3 separate regions of the Homo sapiens genome follow, and regions 1 and 3 are each linked to region 2. Evidence: promoter capture Hi-C in human tissues and cell types (Jung and others, 2019). All regions are on one chromosome and are shown on one strand. Each heading gives the region's core, a stretch centred on a gene start or on the middle of the fragment in contact. The rest is flanking DNA. Distances are from core to core; before and after follow the strand shown.

Region 1 (4,248 bases), core at 1,639-4,138, 43 kb before region 2:
GCCTGGGCCTGGGGCCCTGACCACTTGCCCCGCACGACTCAGGGCCCCCTCCGCACCTGGACACGGGCCCCACAGGCCACGCTCAGGCCACCCCAGGGTCAGGAACACAAGGCTACGCTGGGAAGTGCCAGCGTCTCGCACATAGAATTGGTGTTGCTTCTCTCTTCTCAATATCCACCCCGAATACCCCATTTTCCACATTTCCTATATTAAACTGTATTATTTTGTAGTTAGAAAAAAGTTTTATTTCTAAAGATGGCAGCTTCTGTCTCTGTACCCGTGGAGTTAGAATCAGGAAGAGAATGTGGCTCCCGTCGCGTGGCACCTGTGGTCAGGGTGGGGGCACCCAGCTATAAGCCACATCATTCGTGTTCAGTCCCTGTCAGTTTCATGAGAAGTGGCAGCCGAGAGGGCAGCCCGGGAGGTGCCACCCGAGCTGACGGTGACACCACGGTGATGCCTGGCTGAGCTCAGGGCGGCAGCACACCCCTCCTCGGGACCGCCTGTGTGGGTGTCCCCTGTAAGGTGGCATTGCCTGGGCCCCCGCCAGGCCACAGTTTTCCAAAGACTCCAGGGCTTGGCTGCTGCATCCAGCTGCAAAGAGGCCTGCTGGGAAAAGAGCTGATGCCACAGGGAAGAAACGCGACCCCCACGGGCCCTGCTGGCCTCTCCAAGGCCCCGACCACTGGACGCAGAGGAAGCCGGCCTTGCGTCAGGGTGAGATGGATGGAGACGGCCACGGGCAGTGCTGCCCCCAGCGGGGCGCGCCTCACCCTGGACTGTGGGGTCCTCTCCACAGGCAGCGCTGCCCCCAGCGGGGCGCGCCTCACCCTGGACTGTGGGGTCCTCTCCAGAGCCGCCCATCTGGTCCTGAGACTTGGCCCAAGGCTTTGGGTCCACAGCCTGGCTCTAAGGAAAGCCTGTGCCAGGCCTTGGGGAACCCATTGCCGAGCAGTCACAGAAAGCTCCCGGGGTCCCCGGGGCCCATCTCAGTGAAGCCTGAGGCGGGGGATGGGGGTGGGGAGCAGGGCCCTTCCCGCTGGAGCCTGGAGCCTGTGCCTCTGGGTCCCCTGTGGGGTGGGGGCCTCATAGCCATGCTCCCAGGGTGGGATGCAGCGCCCTCCCCGCTGGAGCCTGGAGCCTGTGCCTCTGAGGCCCCTGTGGGGTGGGGGCCTCACAGCCATGCATCCAGGTGCCTGGTTCTTCCCCCATGGAGCTTGTCATAGGTACGGCTGGTGTGCCAGAGTCTGAGGCCCTCTGTCCCGAGAGCCGTCGTTCTCCAGGCTCTAGGTACCAGACCTCCATCTGTGACTCCCCCAGGCGCCCACACTTTCCTGGCTCTCCTCCGCCCCCGACCCCATCTGCTGGGGCCCTGGCAGCCCTTCCACGTCTGCTCCTCCTTCCTCCTCCCCACAGAAGCCCTAGGGATGGTCCCAAAGCCAGGCCGAGTGTGTGACACCGTCTCCAGCTCCCACGTGCTCAGGGTCGGGGCGGGCTCAGCGGGGTGTCTGGCTGCTGCCTCTCACCCCTTCCCTCCTTCGGAAACACGGCACTGGGCCTGACATCCACCATACGGGACAGTGGCTGGGCTTCTCTGGCCAGACCGAGGGGCCGCCCCTGCTGGCACTACGGGAGGTCACCCTGCAACACCCCGGATGCAGGGAGGATGCCCCCAAAGGAGCCCCCTTCTCCTTCTGAGGCTTCTGAGGAGCCCGGGGCTCAGCGCAGCTATAACCCCTTAGAATCCCCCGCTCCTCGGAGCCCCTGCCACCTCCCCGGGCTTTTCCCAAACACTGCCTGCTCATGGTGGGCTCTGGGACCTTCTGGAAAAGAGGTAGCCCTTGTCTTTTCAGTGCTTCAGAGGCCGTGCTAGTTCTTTGCCAACACACGGGCAGGAAGAGTTGAGTGGCGTCCAAGGGCCGGAAAAGCCGAGCCCCTCCCCAGTCCTGGCCTTGAAGGCTGCTCTGTTCCTGAGCTGGGCACAGAAGCTGCAGTGACTCAGGGTCCACCGTGGGGTCGGGCCTCACCCTGGGCCCAGGTGAGCCAGAAGGGACAGCGCTTTGAGGGCTGACCTCACGCAGGTCCCCGGGCCAGGGAGAGGCCGCACCTGCGCCTGGGTGGTGGAGGGGAAGGGAGGAGGGGCTGCTCCCACTCTGAGCAGGCTCTGGAGGAGGATCAGGACAGGCCCTAAGGCGCTGTTTCTCCCCCACCCCATGGCCTTGGGAGAGGGTCTGCCCCACTCCCTCTTCTCTCCCATGACCTCTGACCCTCAGCCCCTCCTTCCTTTGGGCCATGCTGGCTAGTAGGCTCCTCCCATGTCCACAGCGGTGGCTCCGCGCTGCCCCTTGGACTTCCCCGAAGTGACCCTGACCCCTGGACCTTGGCCACCCCTCCCAGGCCACACCCCGACCTGGTCCCTCCAAGTGTCCACCAAACCCTGGAAGGGAAACACTGCACGCCTGTGCCCTGGGGGCCGGGGTCTGCCCAGAATGCCTTCTCTTCCTTGCTCCTTTCACTAAATGTTCTTTTCTTTTCTTTTTATTTATTTATTTATTTATTTTTGAGACAGAGTCTCGCTGTGTCGCCAGGCTGGAGTGCAGTGGCGCAATCTCAGCTCACTGCAACCTCCGCCTCCTGGGTCCAAGTGATTCTCCTGCCTCAGCCTCCCTAAGAGGAGCTGGGACTACAGGCGTGCGCCACCACATGCAGCTAGCTTTTGTGTCTTTAGTAGAGACGGGGTTTCACCATGTTGGCCAGGATGGTCTCGATCTCTTGACCTTGTGATCCACCCGCCTCAGCCCCCGAAAGTGCTGGGATTACAGGTGTGAGCCACTGCGCCTGGCCTGAATGTTCTTTTCAGGACCACTCAGGCCTCCAGCCCCAGGCGCCCAAGAGGTTTACCTGTTTCCCACCCAGGAGCCCCCACCCTGCGTGTCCTCTGACAGCTGTGGGGACCTCACTTCAAACGGGCTTCAAGGGAGGCCCCAGCACTGTGTCTTACCTCAGGCTGAGGTCTTACCTCAGCCTCAGGTCTTACCTCAGCCTCCCTCCCGGCCCGTCCATCTCAGGTCCCCTCAGCGCCCCCGGCAGATGTGCCTGAGAACCTTGCTGAAGGGGTGCCAGGGTCGGGGACTCCGGGACTCACAGCCAGAAGAACTCTCCCTGCACCCCGCTGCCCCGAGGAAGGGCGTCCAAGCCCTGCCTCTCCCAAGGCCCACCTCTCAGGGGCAGCGGATCGGAATGGGGCACCCACCCGGGGAGGCCCTGTGCTCCCGATTAGATTATCAACACCACACAGTTCACCTTTGCTCGGCTGCGCTGCTGTTGGTTGAGGAAAAGCAAAGAGGAGTTACATTTTAACATTTGTGATAGCGCAGCTAGCAGCTCGCAGCTCCTGCAGACAGCTGCTGGGGGGAGGGTGCCCAGGGAGTCCACGCTGGCTCCAATAAACCCGGCTCCCAGAGACGTGTGTCCTGTCGCCAGGCCTGCTCGCCCCAGAGAGGCTGTGGGGCACAGTGAGAAACGTCTCCGGCGTGATTGCTATTGGTGAACTGTGAGTTTCGTTCACCTGCTAAAAATGTTCCCCCAAACAATGTTTCCTTGGAAGCACTTCCATTTCAAAATACAGCTGCAAAGTGCCTTGCTTGGCCCGTGAAGGTCAATGAGCCCGCAGAAGGGGCAGAGACAAAAGGGTTTTTAATAACGCTCCTTGCTGTCAGCAGCAGCACAGGCTCTGTAGACAAGTCAGGCTTTGTTCCCGGCAGTCCGCTGTCATTACATGGGGCAGCTCCATAAAGATACCAAGGCCAGCTCTGAGGCCAGGGTGCAGACTCCAGATGCACAGATGCTGGGCCGGGGATGCCCCTCACCTGGACAGGAGGACAAAATCCCCAGGAGCCCTGGACGGGGGTGGGGCAGGAATGGGGTAAACCACATGCAGCATCCAGCACCCGGCACCCGGCACCCAGAACCCAGCACCCGGCACTGTGCTCAGTAAGGCCTGGAGGACACCAGGGCCGGCCCCAGGGAAGAGGGGGAGAGCAGGTGGCTCCGTGGTCAGGGCTGGGCAGAGGCAGGAAGGGGCAGGGCCAGCGGCCTTTGGGTAACAGCGAAGCTCCTCCTTGCTTGGTTTTCAAGCTCTGAGACCCCTCAGGGGCTGCTGCAGGGGGTGAGGGAGGGGCAAGAAGGGGCATGAGGGGGAAATAGGAGACGTAAGGGGAGCTCACTTCTCCCCCAACCCTTTCCAGG
Region 2 (3,953 bases), core at 123-2,622:
GCTCGCCTGCTGATGGCTTCAACAGGGTCTCACCTCATCTTTTCCTGCTCTTTGGCCCTGGATCGAGAAAATTTCCATCAGTGCCCCATTAATATGCTGCCCTGTGGCATCTGCCCAGGAGGCCCTGCCAGGCGTGCACAGGTGTGCATTGGTGTACCCTGGCATGCACAGGTGTGCACTGATGTGCCCTGGCATCCATTGGTGTACCCTGGTGTGCCTGCCATAGGACCCTGGGCGGGAGCTCCCATCTCATCTACATCTCCTGATTCATGCGTTGTTTCATAGGTTTCAATGTCTCTGTAAATGTGGTAGAAATGCAGGCTTTATGGGCATAAAGTGTACATTTCTAAATAAATCCCTTCTATTGAGTATGCTCACCCTAGAAGTTACTGTTGTCCAGACGTAGAGGGATGAGTGAGCCAGTGACCTCAGACGGGATGGTGGGGACGGCAGGTCCAGCTCCTGCCTCCTCCTGGGGGGTCTGGCTTTGGGGGCTTGCTCCGAAGAGGCCATGGCCCAGGCCTGTGGCCTCACAATGGGGACCAACCAGCTCTTCTCATCTTCTTCCCTCACACTTCCTCTCACTCAAATAAGAACCTTCCAAAAATGTGTCCACCTGGGCCCCTGCCCTGGGACTCATGGATTTGGAGTTGTGGCCACACGGTTGAGGGGTGCAGTGTCCAGTGGAATGGGGCAATTGCGGGCCTGGGGGCCCTTGGCCTGTCCGTGGCGGGAGCATCTGCAAGGAGGAGCCCCAGAGTCCAGGGAGCACTGTGGGGAGCTCCTTAGAGCTGAACTCACCCGGCGTCAACTCATCAACCCTCCACCCATGGACAGGGGTGCCCCCAGCACAGGAGAGGACTCAGCCCTCTGCCCCCACGCACGGTGGGTGCCTGTCACCCTGTCCTGCCCAGCGGCCCGAGGGCAGCAGTGGGTGTGAGGGCAGCCCCCGGCCTCCCAAGAGCAGCTGAGAGGATCCCTGCGGGAATCCGGGCTTCGGGTGCATGCGATCTGATCTGAGTTGTTTCTGACAGTGACAGAGTGACAATCTATAAGTATCTCAAGATCAAATGGTTAAATAAAACATAAGAAATTTAAAACGATTAAAATATGCCTCAGTCTTGGGAATCCTGGTGTCTGCAACAAAAAAACTTGAGGCTGTCCTTGCAAACGGTCCTCATGGTGCTGGGGGTGGTGCCAGGCCCGGCGTTTGCCTGGAACACAGAGCATGCGAGAAGGAGCAGAGGACGTGGGTGCCAGGGAAGGACCCTGGCGTCAGAGCCAGGGCCTGGACCTGAGTTACCCATTAACGGCACTCCACTGGTTTTCCTTTAAAGAAATGAATAAATACAACTGCAGTGGGGCTGCTTGTGGTTTCCAAACGTCGGCAGAGGCTGGAGACGGCTCTCTAGTGCTGGGTGTGGAGTGAGGCACCACCCTTGCCCTGAAGCCTGGGGCACTCAGTCACCATGGCTCATGCCCCAGAACCGGACCCGGCCGCCTGCGACCTCGGGGATGAGAGGCCCAAGTGGGACAACAAGGCCCAGTACCTCCTGAGCTGCACTGGGTTTGCCGTGGGACTGGGGAACATTTGGCGGTTCCCATACCTGTGCCAGACCTATGGAGGAGGTAAGCACCCACCTGCGTCCTGGGGCAGACCCCTAAGCAGGGGAGGCCGTCTCCACCCTGACCTGCCAGGCGCCTGCCACGCATCCCCAGTGCTTGGGCAGAGTCACTCCTCCTGGAAACCAGGGTGCACCATTGCCCACGGCAGAGTCAGTCCCCTCAGGGCCCACCTGCAGTCTTCTGGGACCTCAGGGCAGCTTCACCACTGCCCACAGCACGGAGGATCCAGTCCCCTCGGGGTCCACTATGGTCTTCCGGGACCTCAGGGCAGCTTCCTGCCAGGCGTCAGGTTGAATGGGCCGCCCTGCCCGACACACACACCCTACAAACAGTGAGCGCTCTTCCATCTGAATGTCGTCAGTTCTTTAAAGAACACACAATCCGCTCTGGGTTTCCTCACCACAGCCTTGGTGTGTCCAGACATGTGCTCAGGTGCCCTTCTCCGAGGTTCTTTGCAGGAATTTGGGGGCCCACCCCTCGCCTCCCTGGCTTTGGTTCTCTGGGAGAGCCCTGTGGGGGGTGCCAGGATGTTCAGAACTGTCTGGGTGACTTTAGTGACCTTGGACTCACCACCCCCAGAAGTGCATTGGTGACTGAAATAGGCTCCCACGCACCTCGAGCCTCCCCTCACCCTGTGCCTGCTTCTCTTCATGCAGGGGTCACACTCTGCTCTCCATGTGGCGACACAGGATGTAGGGACAGGCATGAATCACTGCTCTCAGGGAGCCGACGTACAACATCACGCATGGACACCCAGGTCTTCCCCAGGCAACACGGGCAGGGGCTTCCCAGGCCGCAGGGTCCTCCTCAGGCCAGGCCGGGCTGCTTGGTCAGCCTGTTCCCCGGGCCCTCAGCTCCTTCCCTGAGAGCCCCGCACAACTATCCCTTGTTATAAGGTTACTCCTTTAAAGTGTTTTTCCTCCTGCTTAAGAAAAGATTCTCAACAGGCAGAAAATGCAGGAAATGCGCACAAATGGAAAAAACAAAAAGAAACACCCGTCACTGCCACCCTCGGGGCACTGGGGTCTCTTTGGGGCTTTGGGGCTGGAGAGGGTGCATTGGGCCTTGGATCTTCTCATCATGAGAGTCCCTTTGAAGGCATTTCTGAAAGCACCAAAGCCCAAGGGCAGAGGCGTCCCTGGCTCCCGGGGCCCTCGCTGCCTGTGCTGCGGCTCGATCTGCTAAGAGTCACCAGAGCATGCAAGGTTGTGGGGGCAGCAGGCTTCACGCAGAGCTGGAAATGCCGGCCAACGCTTTACCCACCAACGCCTTGTTCGCCAATGCCTTGCCCACCGATGCCTTTCCTGCTGATGCCTTGCCCAACGCCTTGCCCACCGACGCCTTGCCCACCGATGCCTTGCCCACCGATGCCTTGCCCGCCGACGCGCCCAACGCCTTGCCCGCCGACGCCTTGCCCGCCGACACCTTGCCCGCCGACCCCTTGCCCGCCGACGCCTTGCCCGCCGACGCCTTGCCCGCCGACGCCTTGCCCGTCGATGCCTTGCCCGCCGATGACTTGCCCGCCGATGCCTTGCCCGCCGATGCCTTGCCCACCGAAACCCAGTTACCATTGCTAAGCGCCTGCAGTGTACTGGAAGTGTCTGGCACTAGCCTCCCTTAAACTCAGCTGCTCCACGCTGGGGCAAAGCTGGGGAGGCCCCCACCTGGGGTGCTGCTGAGGAGGGAGAACAGCCCTGCCCGCCAGCTGCGCGGGGACTTCAGGGCTGCTCCACTCATGAACGACTCTACCATCAATCTCCTGATGCAAGCCACCGGGTTGCATGTCATGAAACATCCAAGTTTATTTAACTCACACACTTCCTAAGGGCCGTGCCATCAGCATTCTCACCCTGTGTGTGAACATGCCCTTCACTTTGTCTCGCTGTGAGGATCACTCATTGATGATTTTGAAAACAAGATATAATTAAGAAGCAGGTACTGTGTAGCTTTTAACATTTGCATATACTCATGACTACCAAAGGCGAATATTATTTGCTCTCCCATTCATAAGTATTCAACTACATAAATGTTCTCTTCAAAGCTAAGACTTGTAAAGCAACATTGTAACAGAATGTAGCAAAACGTTGCGGTAAAGATTTACAGTGATTTTCTCACACCTATGACATTTCATGGCAGCTGCTTTATTACACATTCAGCGTCTTTAAATCAAAGGAACGTAGACTCGTAAATGCCAAGCGATGGGTTCAGGCCAGCTGCCCGGGACACTCTAACACTTGCTGTGGTTTAAGGTTTCAACCCAGGAAGCTTTTATGACTAAGCTGGTGGCCCTGGGCTGGCTGTGTCCACACACGTGAGGTCACTCATCA
Region 3 (3,710 bases), core at 184-2,683, 43 kb after region 2:
TGTGTGACCCTCAGGCCCAAGCCCAGCGCCCCATGACCATGGGCCAGAGGTATCCTGTCCCAGAGGGCTGACCAGTGTGCCGCCAGCTCGAGGACACTTTCCTCCAAATCCCAGAGCAAGTTGTGTGTACAAGAAATTTTTGTTTCTGTTACATAAACTTATTTCAATCTAGAACTTGAACCTTAATGAAGAAGAACCTTGATCCACTGTACATGCTATAATTGGAGCTAGAGTTTCAAAAGATGCACAGGAAAAACCCGGAGTCTTCGAGAGAAATGGCTGTGTGGCCTGCAGGCTTCCTGACGCATCCTTCACTAACTGTCTGCTTGTTCAGTGATACTATTTTCATAAAAAAATAACTGCTGTCCACATCCTCTCCAGCACCAGAACACTTTTACACTGTTGGTGGGAGTGTAAACTAGTTCAACCATTGTGGAAGACAGTGTGGTGATTCCTCAAGGATCTAGAACTAGAAATACCATTTGACCCAGCCATCCCATTACTGGGTATATACCCAAAGGATTATAAATCATGCTGCTATAAAGACACATGCACACGTATGTTTATTGCGGCACTATTCACAGTAGCAAAGACTTGCAACCAACCCAAATGTCCATCGATGATAGACTGGATTAAGAAAATGTGGCACATATACACCACGGAATACTATGCAGTCATAAAAAAGGATGAGTTCATGTCCTTTGTAGGGACATGGACGAAGCTGGAAACCATCACTCTGAGCAAACTATTGCAAGGAAAGAAAACCAAACACCACATGTTCTCACTCACAGGTGGGAACTGAACAATGAGAACACTTGGACACAGGGTGGGGAACATCACACACCAGGGCCTGTCATGGGATGGGGGGAGTGGGGAGGGATAGCATTAGGAGATATACCTAATGTAAATGATGAGTTAATGGGTGCAGCACACCAACATGGCACATGTATACATATGTAACTAACCTGCACGTCGTGCACATGTACCCTAGAACTTAAAGTATTAAAAAAAAAAAAGTAACTGCTGTCAATAAAAGCCAGCTGAGTTGAACCACATTAGGTTGGCACGATATTTAGGTGTGTGCGTCCTTGGGTGTAGACCCCATGCAAGTGGGATGGGCAATGGGCTGAAGAGGCGCCCAGTCCAGGCCACCTGTCGAGGGCCTGCTGGGAGATGTGGGGCCTCAGGCTGCACCAGCCCCATCTCCCCAAGGACCCTAACGGAACCTGGGTGACGTGACAGAAGCTGGTGTGCTTCCTCGGTGTTGAATTCACATGCTCATCATGCAGGGCAGCGGCCCTCCCGCCTGCTGAGCCCTGAGGCCTCTGGACATGGCCGCTGGACAGAGCCTGCGTGGAGCCCGCAGTCCTCAGGCTGTGCAACCCCTCCCGTGCGGCTTCATACCAAGAAGGGGCTGCAACCTTGTCTGGTTCCTCAAGACAGAGCAGTCATGGTCTCCAGAGCACCAGGAATATTAACACTGAATGCATCAAAAGCAAATCAACCCCCACCCAAGCCCCCCTGGGGAAGAGGAGGCCTCACCCGTCCCGCCGAATCCCCGCAAACAGCTTGTTCTCCATGTCGCCGTAGCACAGGCTGCAGAGCAGCGTGGAGAGGATGGAGCCCTGCGGGATCCCCTGGCACTGGACGTAGGACCTGGGGCGGGAAGACACAGGTGAGAGACGGGCAGGGCATGTGCTGGACATGCGTACACTCAAACCGAGCCACACACAGACACAGAACCTCATACACACAAACGACACGTCTACCATTCAGCCGGCAAACACCTCAGAAACATACCAGATGAGACCTCTGAACAAACAATCCCTGCTCCCCACTCTCACCATGCACTGGGGCGGCTGAAACAGATCCAGCCACAGGTGTGACCACATCCTTGCTCTGAATCATCAAGGTTTTCTTTCATTAAGGTTTCTTAAATCTTAGAGTTTATTCACAGAACCAGACACTTGACCCGGAATGAATGCTTAACCGGACTCCTTTTTTTTTTTTCAAGGAATTTGTCCACGGTGAAAGACTCATGACCCTACATGTAGCCGCTGCGCGCCAACGGATACAACCTTGCCCCTAGTTTCAGCATGACCAACGAGAAGCAGAAACTCTCCAAACAAGGATGCCAAGGGTGCGTTTTCAGACAAACAGTGAGAGCAGAATAGCCCCGTGGAACCTAAAGGTGCACACAGAAGGCATGGCTGCCACGCGACCCTCAGCCATCCCCAGAGCCCACAGGACGCCACTCCTGTTGCTAAGAGACGCTTGCAGCCTACTGCAAAAACAAGACCTGTTATTTTCGGGAAGCGCTATAGGTGGTCACCTTAAAAAGAGGCTTTCCGGCTGGGCGTGATGGCTCACACCTGTAATCCCAGCACTTTGGGAGGCCGAGGTGGGTGGATCACCTGAGGTCAGGAGTTCGAGACCAGCCTGGCCAACATGGCAAAAACCCCTCTCTACTAAAAATACAAAAATTAGCCAGGCGCAGGGGGTGGGTGCCTGTAATCTCAGCTGCTCGGGAGGCTGAGGCAGGAGAAATGCTGGAACCCGGGAGGCGGAGGTTGCAGTGAGTTGAGATCGCGCCACTGCACTCAAGCCCAGGCAGACAACAGTGACGTTCCGTCTCAAAAAAAAAAAAAGAAAGAAAAGAAAAGAGGCTTTCCTTGCTGGTGCAGATATCACAGTGATGGGCAAGAGGACTGCACTTTTTGCACAGAAGCACACGCACCAACTCTAGGAGTCCGGCCAGCCCAGCGAGTCAACGCAAGCAGATACGCCCCTGTGAGCACATGGGATGGGAAACTCTCTCTGTTCTTAGTTTTTGGGGCAACAGGTTTTGAAGACGTTTTTATTCAGAGGCCAAACTGGACCACGATGGGGACTAGAGCTTCGGGCCTGTCCGTGTCCTAGGGACAGGACAGACACAGTCACCTCCTGTCTGTCAGGGCATGAGGACGCAGTCATCACCTCACATTCCCCAAAGCCCTGCCACACGTGGACGGTACGTGACTTGATCCATCTTAATAAAATTCACGACCACGAAGGAGGCCCGTGGTGGCTTCTCTGGGGAGGTGACTTTGTCAGCGAATTCTGTGGGCCTGGGGGCCGCTTACACACATGTGCACACGTGTCCCTCGGCCAAAATTCACTCTGCTGCCATGTGCAATTTGTGTTTTTCCAGAACGTGTGTACTACTTAATATTTCTAATTATACTTTAATAAATATTATAATTGCTGATACCATTAGTGATTACTTATAATGCAATAATTAATAGTTATATTTTTAAATAAAAGCTTCCGAAGCTGTGCACAGTCCTTTATCCGCTGGAGACGATCCCAGAGAGAGGCCTCCACGTTCCACCTGACTGCGGATGACCTTGCTGATGACCTTGAGTGTGCACGAATTTCCTCCGTGCTACCACTCTCCCCAGGCACACACAGGGTCGCAGGCAGATGCCTGCCGGGAGGTGTGTGGTTTTACTTAAAATCCAGAGGACGTGATGTGGCACCAGGCACTGTGGCTCTACCACCGTGAGTGTGGCTCACCCAGTGGCTGTGTGACGGCAGCTCTCCCAGGCCGCCTGCCCCATGGCCACCACAGGCCCCCCGAGAGGAGCAAACTACACGGTCAACCCCGCACTTTCCAGATGGGAAATCTAGTCACAGAGAGAAGAGCCCGCGCCCTCGCGGGGGTCACACGA

Evidence for each region. The method cuts DNA at HindIII sites, captures the fragments that hold promoters and counts their contacts. A contact is called where the count stands out against the background at its distance.
Region 1: a contact is called between a fragment that was not itself captured here and the fragment with the promoter of SLC6A18 in region 2, in 1 of the 25 tissues and cell types used here (spleen).
Region 3: a fragment that was not itself captured here is called in contact with the fragment with the promoter of SLC6A18 in region 2 in 1 of the 25 tissues and cell types used here (spleen).

What each region holds. Positions count from the first base shown.
Region 1 is chr5:1,179,606-1,183,853 of GRCh38, forward strand. LOC124900189 reads right to left here and starts at 3,242. Exons shown (of 8, transcript XM_047417960.1): 1 at 3,038-3,242; 2 at 1-606. The coding sequence starts at 201. The HindIII fragment of the contact is 9,122 bases long and covers 1-4,248 here.
Region 2 is chr5:1,224,009-1,227,961 of GRCh38, forward strand. SLC6A18 (solute carrier family 6 member 18) reads left to right here and starts at 1,373. Exons shown (of 12, transcript NM_182632.3): 1 at 1,373-1,629. The coding sequence starts at 1,470. It overlaps SLC6A19 (solute carrier family 6 member 19), which reads left to right. Exons shown (of 12, transcript NM_001003841.3): 12 at 1-1,103. RefSeq lists an enhancer at 1,767-2,309. The HindIII fragment of the contact is 11,488 bases long and covers 1-3,953 here.
Region 3 is chr5:1,266,978-1,270,687 of GRCh38, forward strand. TERT (telomerase reverse transcriptase) reads right to left here. Exons shown (of 16, transcript NM_198253.3): 9 at 1,543-1,656. Among named protein-coding and RNA genes, the nearest start is that of TERT, 26 kb to the right of the region's middle. The HindIII fragment of the contact is 5,877 bases long and covers 1-3,710 here.